3 separate regions of the Homo sapiens genome follow, and all the other regions are linked to region 2. The links are contacts of gene promoters, found by promoter capture Hi-C in human tissues and cell types (Jung and others, 2019). All regions are on one chromosome and are shown on one strand. The core of a region is centred on a gene start or on the middle of the fragment in contact, and the rest is flanking DNA. Distances in the headings are between cores, read along the strand shown.

Evidence for each region. The method cuts DNA at HindIII sites, captures the fragments that hold promoters and counts their contacts. A contact is called where the count stands out against the background at its distance.
Region 1: a fragment that was not itself captured here is called in contact with the fragment with the promoter of FBXO28 in region 2 in 3 of the 25 tissues and cell types used here (H1 embryonic stem cells, aorta and liver).
Region 3: a contact is called between a fragment that was not itself captured here and the fragment with the promoter of FBXO28 in region 2, in 1 of the 25 tissues and cell types used here (pancreas).

What each region holds. Positions count from the first base shown.
Region 1 is chr1:224,268,502-224,271,401 of GRCh38, reverse strand. The region is part of intron 17 of NVL (nuclear VCP like); the gene reads left to right. Among named protein-coding and RNA genes, the nearest start is that of MIR320B2, 13 kb to the right of the region's middle. The HindIII fragment of the contact is 3,616 bases long and covers 1-2,900 here.
Region 2 is chr1:224,112,842-224,115,783 of GRCh38, reverse strand. FBXO28 (F-box protein 28) reads right to left here and starts at 1,673. Exons shown (of 5, transcript NM_015176.4): 1 at 1,388-1,673. The coding sequence starts at 1,654. It overlaps LOC105373056 (a long non-coding RNA gene), which reads left to right and starts at 1,744. Exons shown (of 3, transcript XR_007066897.1): 1 at 1,744-1,849. RefSeq lists enhancers at 1,611-1,680, 1,821-1,880, 1,901-2,030. The HindIII fragment of the contact is 33,635 bases long and covers 1-2,942 here.
Region 3 is chr1:224,251,286-224,254,233 of GRCh38, reverse strand. All of the region lies in intron 18 of NVL (nuclear VCP like), which reads left to right. Among named protein-coding and RNA genes, the nearest start is that of MIR320B2, 4.4 kb to the left of the region's middle. The HindIII fragment of the contact is 6,578 bases long and covers 1-2,948 here.

The DNA.
Region 1 (2,900 bases), core at 112-2,611, 160 kb before region 2:
TGATCCCACCTCAGCTGCCTGAGTAGCTAGTAGTACGGGTGTGCACCACCACACCCAGCTAAGTTTTTGTTTTTAGAGGTGGGATCTTGCTGTGTTGCCCAGGCTTGTATTGAACTTCTGGCCTCAAGCGATCCTCCTGCCTCAGCCTCCCAAAGTGCTGGGATTACATCATGCCTGGACCTAGGCTTCTATTTTTTATATAAATGTGGTCATTCTGTCTTGATGACTTTCTCATGTACGTAATAACTTAAAAATAGATATTGTATAATAGTCTGGATACAGCAGAATTTACATAATAATTCTCCTGTTTTGGACATTTAGATTGTTTCCAGTTGTAAATAGAACTCTGCTGAACTTGTTTCACGTATTTTTGTGCACCTGTGATGGGACTATATGAGATAGATTTTTGGAAGTGAAAATCAGGGTTGAAGATTGATATATATTAGATTTTGAAAAATAATGCTGTATCATCCTTCACAAAAACTGTCAGTTACATGTGCCCACCAACAGTGTGTGAAAATAACCATTTCCTATCAACAATGGATTATACCTGTCTTTTTATTTTTTGGCAGTTTTATTGGCAAATCATATTACATTTTAGTATACATGTCCCTGATTACCATGAGGTTGACTATCTCCAGTGATTTGAAATTATTTGATCTTATCTTTCAACCCTTTTGCTATTGCTGTCTTTTTCTTTTTTTACATTAATTGGTACTCTATGATGGAAAGTAGTCTTTTATTTAATTATGTGTTGACACTATTTTTCCCAGTCTTATGACTTATATTTAATTTTATTATATAGAATATTATAGGTTTTGTTTGTTTGTTTGTTTGTTTTCTGTTTTGAGAGTCTCACTCCGTCGCCCAGGCTGGAATGCAATGATGCAATCTTGGCTTACTGCAGCCTCCGCCTCCCGGGTTCAAGCAATTCTTCTGCCTCAGCTTCCCGTGCAGCTGGGATTACAGGTTCCCACCACCATGCCCAGCTAATTTTTTGTATTTTTAGTAGAGATGGGGTTTTGCCATGTTGGCCAGGCTGGTCTTGCACTCCTGACCTCAGGTGATTCACATGTCTCGGCCTCCCAAAGTGCTGGGATTACAGGTGTGAGCCACAATGCCCGGCCAGAATATTATGGCTTTAATGCAGCAAAATCTATCAGTCATTCTTGTATTGACTCTGAGTTTGTCTTGCTTATGTAGAAAAAATGTTTTTTACCCATTACTTCCTTATATTTTTGAGTATGGATTATGATTCTGTTAGTGTTATGTTACCAAGGAGTGATAATAAGGAGCACCAATTTTTTTTTTTCTAGAGAAATCAGTGGGGTAAGCTGGGCGCGGTAGTTCATACCTGTAATCCCAGCAGTTTGGGCAGCCGAGGTGGGCAGATTGCTTGAGTCCAGGAGTTCAAGACCAGCAAGGGCAACATGGTGAAATCCCGGCTCTACAAAAAAAAAAAAAAGAAAGAAAAAGAGAGAAAAATTAGCCAGGTGTGGTGGTGCATACCTGTAGTCCCAGCCACTTGGGAGACTGAGGTAGGAGGATTGCTTGAGCCTAGAAGGCAGAGGTTGCAGTAAGCTGAGATCTCACCACTGTACTTCCAGCCTGGGTGACAGAACAAGACCCCTGTCTCAAAAAAAAAAAGAAAAAAGAAAGAAAGAAATGAGGTAAGCCCATTACCACCTCTGTACATAAAATTTATGGTGAAGAAAAGCAATTAATGACCAAAAACACAGCACCACTTTTCTCATTTCCTTCATTTAAAACTTTTTTGTTGTTTCTGTATCTAAGTGATTTATCCCCCTCCCTGAATTTATACCAACTCCCTGAATGTTTCCTTTCACTTAGATATTGCTGAGGTAGCTGTACTTTGTATTATTTGCTTCAAGGAAAAGAGAAAATACCTCAGTGTCCCAGATACTCTTGTATGTGTTGCACTAAAAAGATCTGGAACACCTGGCTGGTCTAATGTCTAATGGTGGTGGGTTATCAGAACTTATTAACATTAGTGTCGTCCAGGTGCAGTGGCACAAGCCTGTAATCCCAGCACTTTGGGAGGCCAAGGCAGGAGGATTGGTTGAGCTCAGGGGTTCGAGACTAGCCTGGGCAATATAGCAACAGGATCTCTAGAAAAAATATGAAAATTAGCCAGGCGTGGTGACACACACCAGTAATCCCAGCTACTTGGGAGGCTGAGGTCGGAGGACTGCTTGAGCCCAGGAGGGGAAGGCTGCAGTGAGCTGATATCACACCAGTACACTCTAGCCTCGGCTACAGAGTAAAACCCTGTCTCAAAAAAAAAAAAAAAAAAAAAGTTAGTCTCACCAAAGTTGGTATACAACCTCCCACTGTTAAATTTGACTGGCTTTAAAAATAAAATAAAATGAGATCTAGAATACCTGATATACTGGGAAATTTGGGGTTCAAAAGCTTAGTCTAGGGCCGGGCGCAGTGGCTCACTCCTGTAATCCCAGCACTTTGGGAGGCCGAGGTGGGCAGATCACCTGAAGTCAGGAGTTTGAAGACCAGCCTGACCAACGTGGTGAAACCGCATCTCTACTGAAATTACAAAATTAGCCAGGCATCGTGGCATACGCCTGTAATCCCAGCTACTTGGGAGGCAGAGGCAGGAGAATTGCTTGAACCTGGGAGATGGAGGTTGCAGTGAGCCAAGATCACACCATTGTACTCCATTCTGGGCAACAAGAGTGAAACTTCATCTCAAAAAACAAAACAAACAAACAAACAAAAAAGCTTAGTCTTGGTGGGGTGCAGCGGCTCACACCTATAATCCCAGCACTTTGGGAGGCTGAGGCAAGAGGATTGCTTGAGGCCAGGAGGTCACGACCAGCCTGGACAGCATAGCAAGACCCCATCTCTACCAAAGAAACGAAAGC
Region 2 (2,942 bases), core at 424-2,923:
TATGCCCAATTTTCCAAACACTGTATATGTACAGCGCGAATTTTGATTAAACGCCACTGTTTGTAAAAATCTGAAGGAATATTTAAGATTCTACATGAAATTCTAGAATGAAAACGTTTTGGAAATTCAGAGGCAATCAATTGTGAAATATCTATTTTCAGCTGAAGAAATTTTCCATCCTGCAGACTGGCATGGTTGAACTGCTGTGTTGACTAGAAAAAAAATTGGCCATCAGTTTGAATTAATATTTATAAGTTCTCTTTTAAAAATGTTATGATTTCCTTTAAAAATGTAATTATAATCCACTTGAAAGTGGAGGTGTATGCCTACAATATAGCATATTGAGTAATAAGAAGATGTTATACACAGCACATTCAGAAATATCTTTGTCCTCTTAAAAACAATTCCCAGCACAGATTTAGCTTCTCCATGGAATCGGTTTGCAATCACTTCAAAATGTCCACCTCCTTCAATTTCTTTACCACTTAAAGATAATTTCATTGAAAGGCAGCAAAATATCTAACTGAACTAACAATCACCACATCTTCAAACCTCTGGAGTGAAGTAAAACCCCAATGGCAAATTCATTATTTTTAAAAATCATGGACTGACCTATTGTGATTTTAAGGTATAAAGAAACCTCTCCTAAAGCAGGTGGGTGGGCGTAAATCACTAGTTAAAAATAAATTGCAAAAGAGAAAAAACCCGTCAAGGGGTAAGTTGCTTCTCTACGGTGGGAAGCGTTAGGATGAGGCAAAGCAGGAATGGTCATTTCCCAAGGCTCTACTTTAGTGGTCAATTAGGGCGCTGGGGCTAACGCTAAGTAAACACGTTCGAATTCTTCGGAACCTCTACCTGGGTTTGGGGTCACTGAGCCACCTTAGTCTACTCAATCTTCTCGAACAAGAAAACTTGGGTGGTTGGGGTGGGGAACAATTCGTTATTCTTGCAAGATAAACCAAACCTGGCTGGGATCATCTGCCTACTTCTGAGTTTTCTCCCCAAACCCAGGCCGGGGGCTGGAAGCGGCATACAAAAGGCAGGCGACATGACCTCTCCGGGTCTACTCTCGGGCCAGGCGGAAGGTGGGAAGACCAACTCCGCTACCCCTCCCGTAGAGGGCCCGCTTCCGGGCGGGGGGCAAGGAGCCCCCAAGGCGAAGTCCCCTCAGGAAGTAACCCCAGCTCCGCAGCTAGGACGCAATCGGGAACCAGCCCACTCCTGCTGACTGACGCCAAGGGAGAGTTCGGGACGGGAGCGGCTCCCTCCCAGATCTGTAGCCGGCTGGGGCTCGCGGGGGGCTCCCTTCCCGGGGAACGCGCTCCCTTCTCATCTCCCAGACCTCGGCCGGGGGGAGAGGGAGGCAGGAGTTCTGCGGGGGCCTCACCAGGCGGAGCTGGCTAATTTCGTCGTAGGACATAAAGCTGAGGATGTTCTCGATGGCTACGATGGGCAGCGCCACAAGCGTGTTGTTTTGAGGCAGCTGGTCCGGAGCCAGCGCGGGGGCTGGGAGCGCCTGGGACCCCGGCTGCGGGTGCTGTGGCGCGGGCGGTGGAGGCTGTCGCTGGGTAGAGCCGGAGGCCAAAGAGGAACCGCCGTCGCCTTGGCCGCCGCCTCCTTCCTCTGCCATCCGCTCCTCCGCCGCTGCCGCCATCTTGGGGGCTTGATTCCTTACCCCCACAGCAAGGGGAACAGGGACACTTCCGGTGCGTCACTTCCTCCTCCTGCAGCCGCCGGGGAAGGGGTACCTGGAGGAGTGGGGAGGAGCCTGTGGGATAACAGGCGGAGAGAGACTCACAGGGTGCCTTTCAAGTGGAAGTCAGGGAAGATCATGTAAACCTCAAGAAAGGTGGTCATCCTAGACCCTTTTGTCTAAGATTAGTAACTACTTGAGAGCAAGGAAACCCTATTTATTAAAATGAACTTCACTGTGCAGTTTTCTTAAAGGGCTTCCTGACAATGGATGATAAAGATGTTGCCTAGTAAGTGTAGATGGAAATAATGTAGTTAGACTAGCACCATTTTTTAGGAATCATAGAAATGATTGATTTAGGCAAATAAAAAGGTATGAAATATCAATAAGAACTACAACATGAATGAACCGTGAGAACATATTAAGTGAAATAAGTTAGACACAAAGGACCACATATTGTATGATTGCATTTATATAGGATGTCTTAAATAGGCAAATCCATAGAGATAAAAAGTAGATTAGTGGTCGCCAGAGGCTGGGGGAAATGGGGAAATGAGTGCTAATGGGTGAAGGGTTTCATTTTCGGGGTGATAAAAATGCTCTGGAATTAGCGGTGATGGTTACACAACCGTATGAATATACAAAAACCACTGAATTACTATATACTTTAATGAATTTTATCATATATGAATTGTATTCTAATAACTGATTTAGGCAAGAATCATCAAAAGGTACTAAAACTAGGAGGTAAACGTGATGAGGAACATGATATTTCCATAGTCTCAAAATAACTCCCCATAAATTATGTATTATTTACAAAGATGAAAAGAAATAGTTTACAAGGCTGGGCGTGTTGACTCACGCCTGTAATCCAGCACTTTGGAAGGCTGAAGCGGGAGAATCACTTTAGCCCAGAAGTTGGAGACCAGCCTGGGCAACGTGGAGAAACCCCATCTCTACAAAAAATACAAAAAATTAGCCAAATGTGGTGGCTAGGTCCTATGGTCCTAGCTACTCGTGAGGCTGAGATGGGAGGATTGCTTGAGCCACACGAGTTCGAGGCTGCAGCGAACCGTCAGCCTGCCACTGCACTCCAGCCTGGGCAACAGAGCGAGAAAAAAAAAAAAAGTTTACAATAGAGAAATTTGGTGGACACCATCATAACCAAATGATCAAGACTAACGCCACAGTTATAGGAGGAGCCAATATCATATGCCTATTAATATAATACCCTGAAAAGGACGCAGCA
Region 3 (2,948 bases), core at 449-2,948, 140 kb before region 2:
GTAATCCCAGCTGCTCAGGAGGCTGAGGCAGGAGAATGAACTTGAACCCGGGAGGCAGAGGTTGCAGTGAGCTGAGATCATGCCACTGCACTCCAGCCTGGGCGACAGAGTGAGACTCCATCTCAAAACAAAAAAAAACATGTTGTACAACCTAAATATATACCATTTTTCTTTGTCAGTTTACAAAATTATTTAATCAACTTTAAACATAAAAATGGCCAAAAGATTTGTACAGTTACTTCACCATAGGAGGTGTACAAATGGCAAACTCATGAAAAATGCTTCACACCATTAGTCACTAGGGAAATGCAAATTAAAGCCACAGTAAGCACTACAAACCTTAGAATAACTAAAAGATTGAAAAGACTGGCTGTGCCAAATGTTGGCAAGGATATGGAGGAACTGGAACTTTCATGCACTGATGATGGGAATGTAATGGTACAAGTAGTTTGGAAAACAGTTTGGCAATTTCTTTTTTTCTTTTCTTTTTTTTTTTTTTTTTGAGACCGAGCCTTGCTCTGTCCCAAGGCTGGAGTGCAGTGGCCTGATCTCGGCTCACTGCAACCTCCGCCTCCTGAGTTCAAGTGATTCTCCTGCCTCAGCCTCCTGAATAGCTGAGATTACAGGCATGTGCCACCACGCCTAGCTAATTTTTGTATTTTTAGTAGAGACGGGGTTTCACCATGTTGGCCAGGATGGTCTCAATCTCTTGACCTTGTGATCCTCCCGCCTCAGCCTCCCAAAGTGCTGGGATTACAGGCGTGAGCCACTCCACCCGGCCAGCAATTTCTTAAAAGTTAAGCATATACCTACAGTTTGATATGGCCATACTACTGGTATCTTACACTTAGGTAATTTACTGAAGAGAAATGAAAGCATATACAGCCTGGGAGCCGTGGCTCAGGCCTGTAATCCCAGCACTTCGGGAGGCTAAGGCGGGTGGATCATGAGGTCAGGAGCTCAAGACCAGCCTGGCCAAGATGGTGAAACCCTGTCTCTACTAAAAATAGAAAACTTAGCCGGGCGTGGGGGGCAGGGGGGCACACTTGTAATCTCAGCTACTTGGGAGGCTGATGCAGAGAACTGCTTGAACCCAGGAGGCAGAGGTTGCAATGAGCCGAGATCGCCCCACTGCACTCTAGCCTGGGTGACAGAGTGAGACTCTGTCATTAAAAAAAAAAGCATATACAAAGACTTGTACAAGAAAATTACTGACACATGAAACAACTTGGGTGAAACCCAAAATGATTATGTTGCATGAAAGAAAGCACAGTACATATTGTATAATTCCACTTACATAAAACTTTAGAAAATGCAAACTAATCTATAGTGCCAAAACAGATAGGTGGCTGCCTAAGGATAAAGGAGAGCAGGTAAGGGCAGGAGAGAAAGGTTACAAAGGAGTCCTCAATAATTTTTAAGAGTGCAAAGGGATTCTGAGACATGAATATTTGACAACCTCTGCTCTGTAGAGTCAGAAGACCCTTAGGCTTGTTGAACCATGCTCTAGTATGATATTGAAAGTGTTATGCAGTAATATTCTTTCCTATTTCCAAGTATGGAATCCTAGCATTCCAAGAGAGAATTCCAACAATGTGCTGAATAGTGATGAAACCATTGAATAATAAGTATATGGGTTCCATAAGGTGGTTAAAGAACAACATCTAACAGGTTTGGAATTTTAGCTAAAAAGGGAATAATAATAATTTACCTCTTTGTAGAGGAGTAACTCATTGGTTAAGTCTTAGTAGGTTTATTAGAAACGTGAATCTCATTAATTATAGCCTGTGTCTGAACATTGTGAGCTATAAGAACCCTCATATTAATGGTTAAGGGACTGTTGGAAATGATGTGATTTTATTAAAAATGGGGTCTTTGTGGAGGAGTCAGGAATGGTCAAAATGAGCTTCAGGTATGGGGCTTGCTCTGTGCTCCTGATACCAAGGGTCTGGCAAGCACAAAGGAAGGTGAGAGAGTTTATCTGGGGGGACTCAAGGAAAACTTCCTGAAAGAGGTGTCCTTTGAGAATTCCCACAGGTATAAATGAGGAGGGAGGCACTTCAGGGAAGGGAACCACTGAGAGCACAGAGAAGGCAAGAAGCTTCTGGATTGTTTAGGGAACAGCAAGACATCTGGTGTAAACAGGGCGTGGGAGTTGGAAGAATGTGTAGGAAGAATAAAACCAGAAAGGAAGATGGTCAGATCCTAAAGGGATTTCCTGCCATAGTGACAGCTGGAGGATTCATTCTGCAGTGGGAGCGGAATTTGAGAGAATTGGACGTGTATTTTAGGACAATAACACTAGCGGCATTGTAAAGAGGCCCAGAGAGAGGAAGTCTAGAGGCAGGACCATTTAGGAGGACTCACATTTTGCCTTTACTGAGGGTTGACGTAATCAGAGGAATGCTTGATGGAAATTGGTTAGAGGGAAGGGAGAAACCTGCCTGGTATTTGGGAGGTAGGGTGGGGTGGAGTGGTGTGGTGATCATTATCTGAGATAGGGAATCCTGGAAGAAGAGCAGTTTGGGGCCGGAAGGTGGGGTGGACTTTTCATTTACTTAAGGACATGTTTTGTTTTTTTGTTATTGTTTTTGAGACAAGAGTCTTGCTCTGTCGCCCAGGCTGGAGTGCAGTGGCACGATCTCCGCTCATTGCAGCCTCCGCCTCCCAGGTTCAAGTGATTCTTCTGCCTCAACCTCACAAGTAGCTGGGATTACAGGTGTGGACCACCACACCCAGCTAATGTTTTGTTTTTTTTAGTAGGCACAGGGTTTCACCATGTTGGCCAGGCTGGTTTCAAACTCCTGACCTCAGGTGATCTGCCACCATGCATAGCCGAAGAGATGTATTTTGATGAGCAGAAGCTTTTCATTTAAATAAAATGCAATTTATTAATTTTTTATTTTTTATAAAGAGGTTATTCTCATCTCATGTTAATTGCTTTTTTT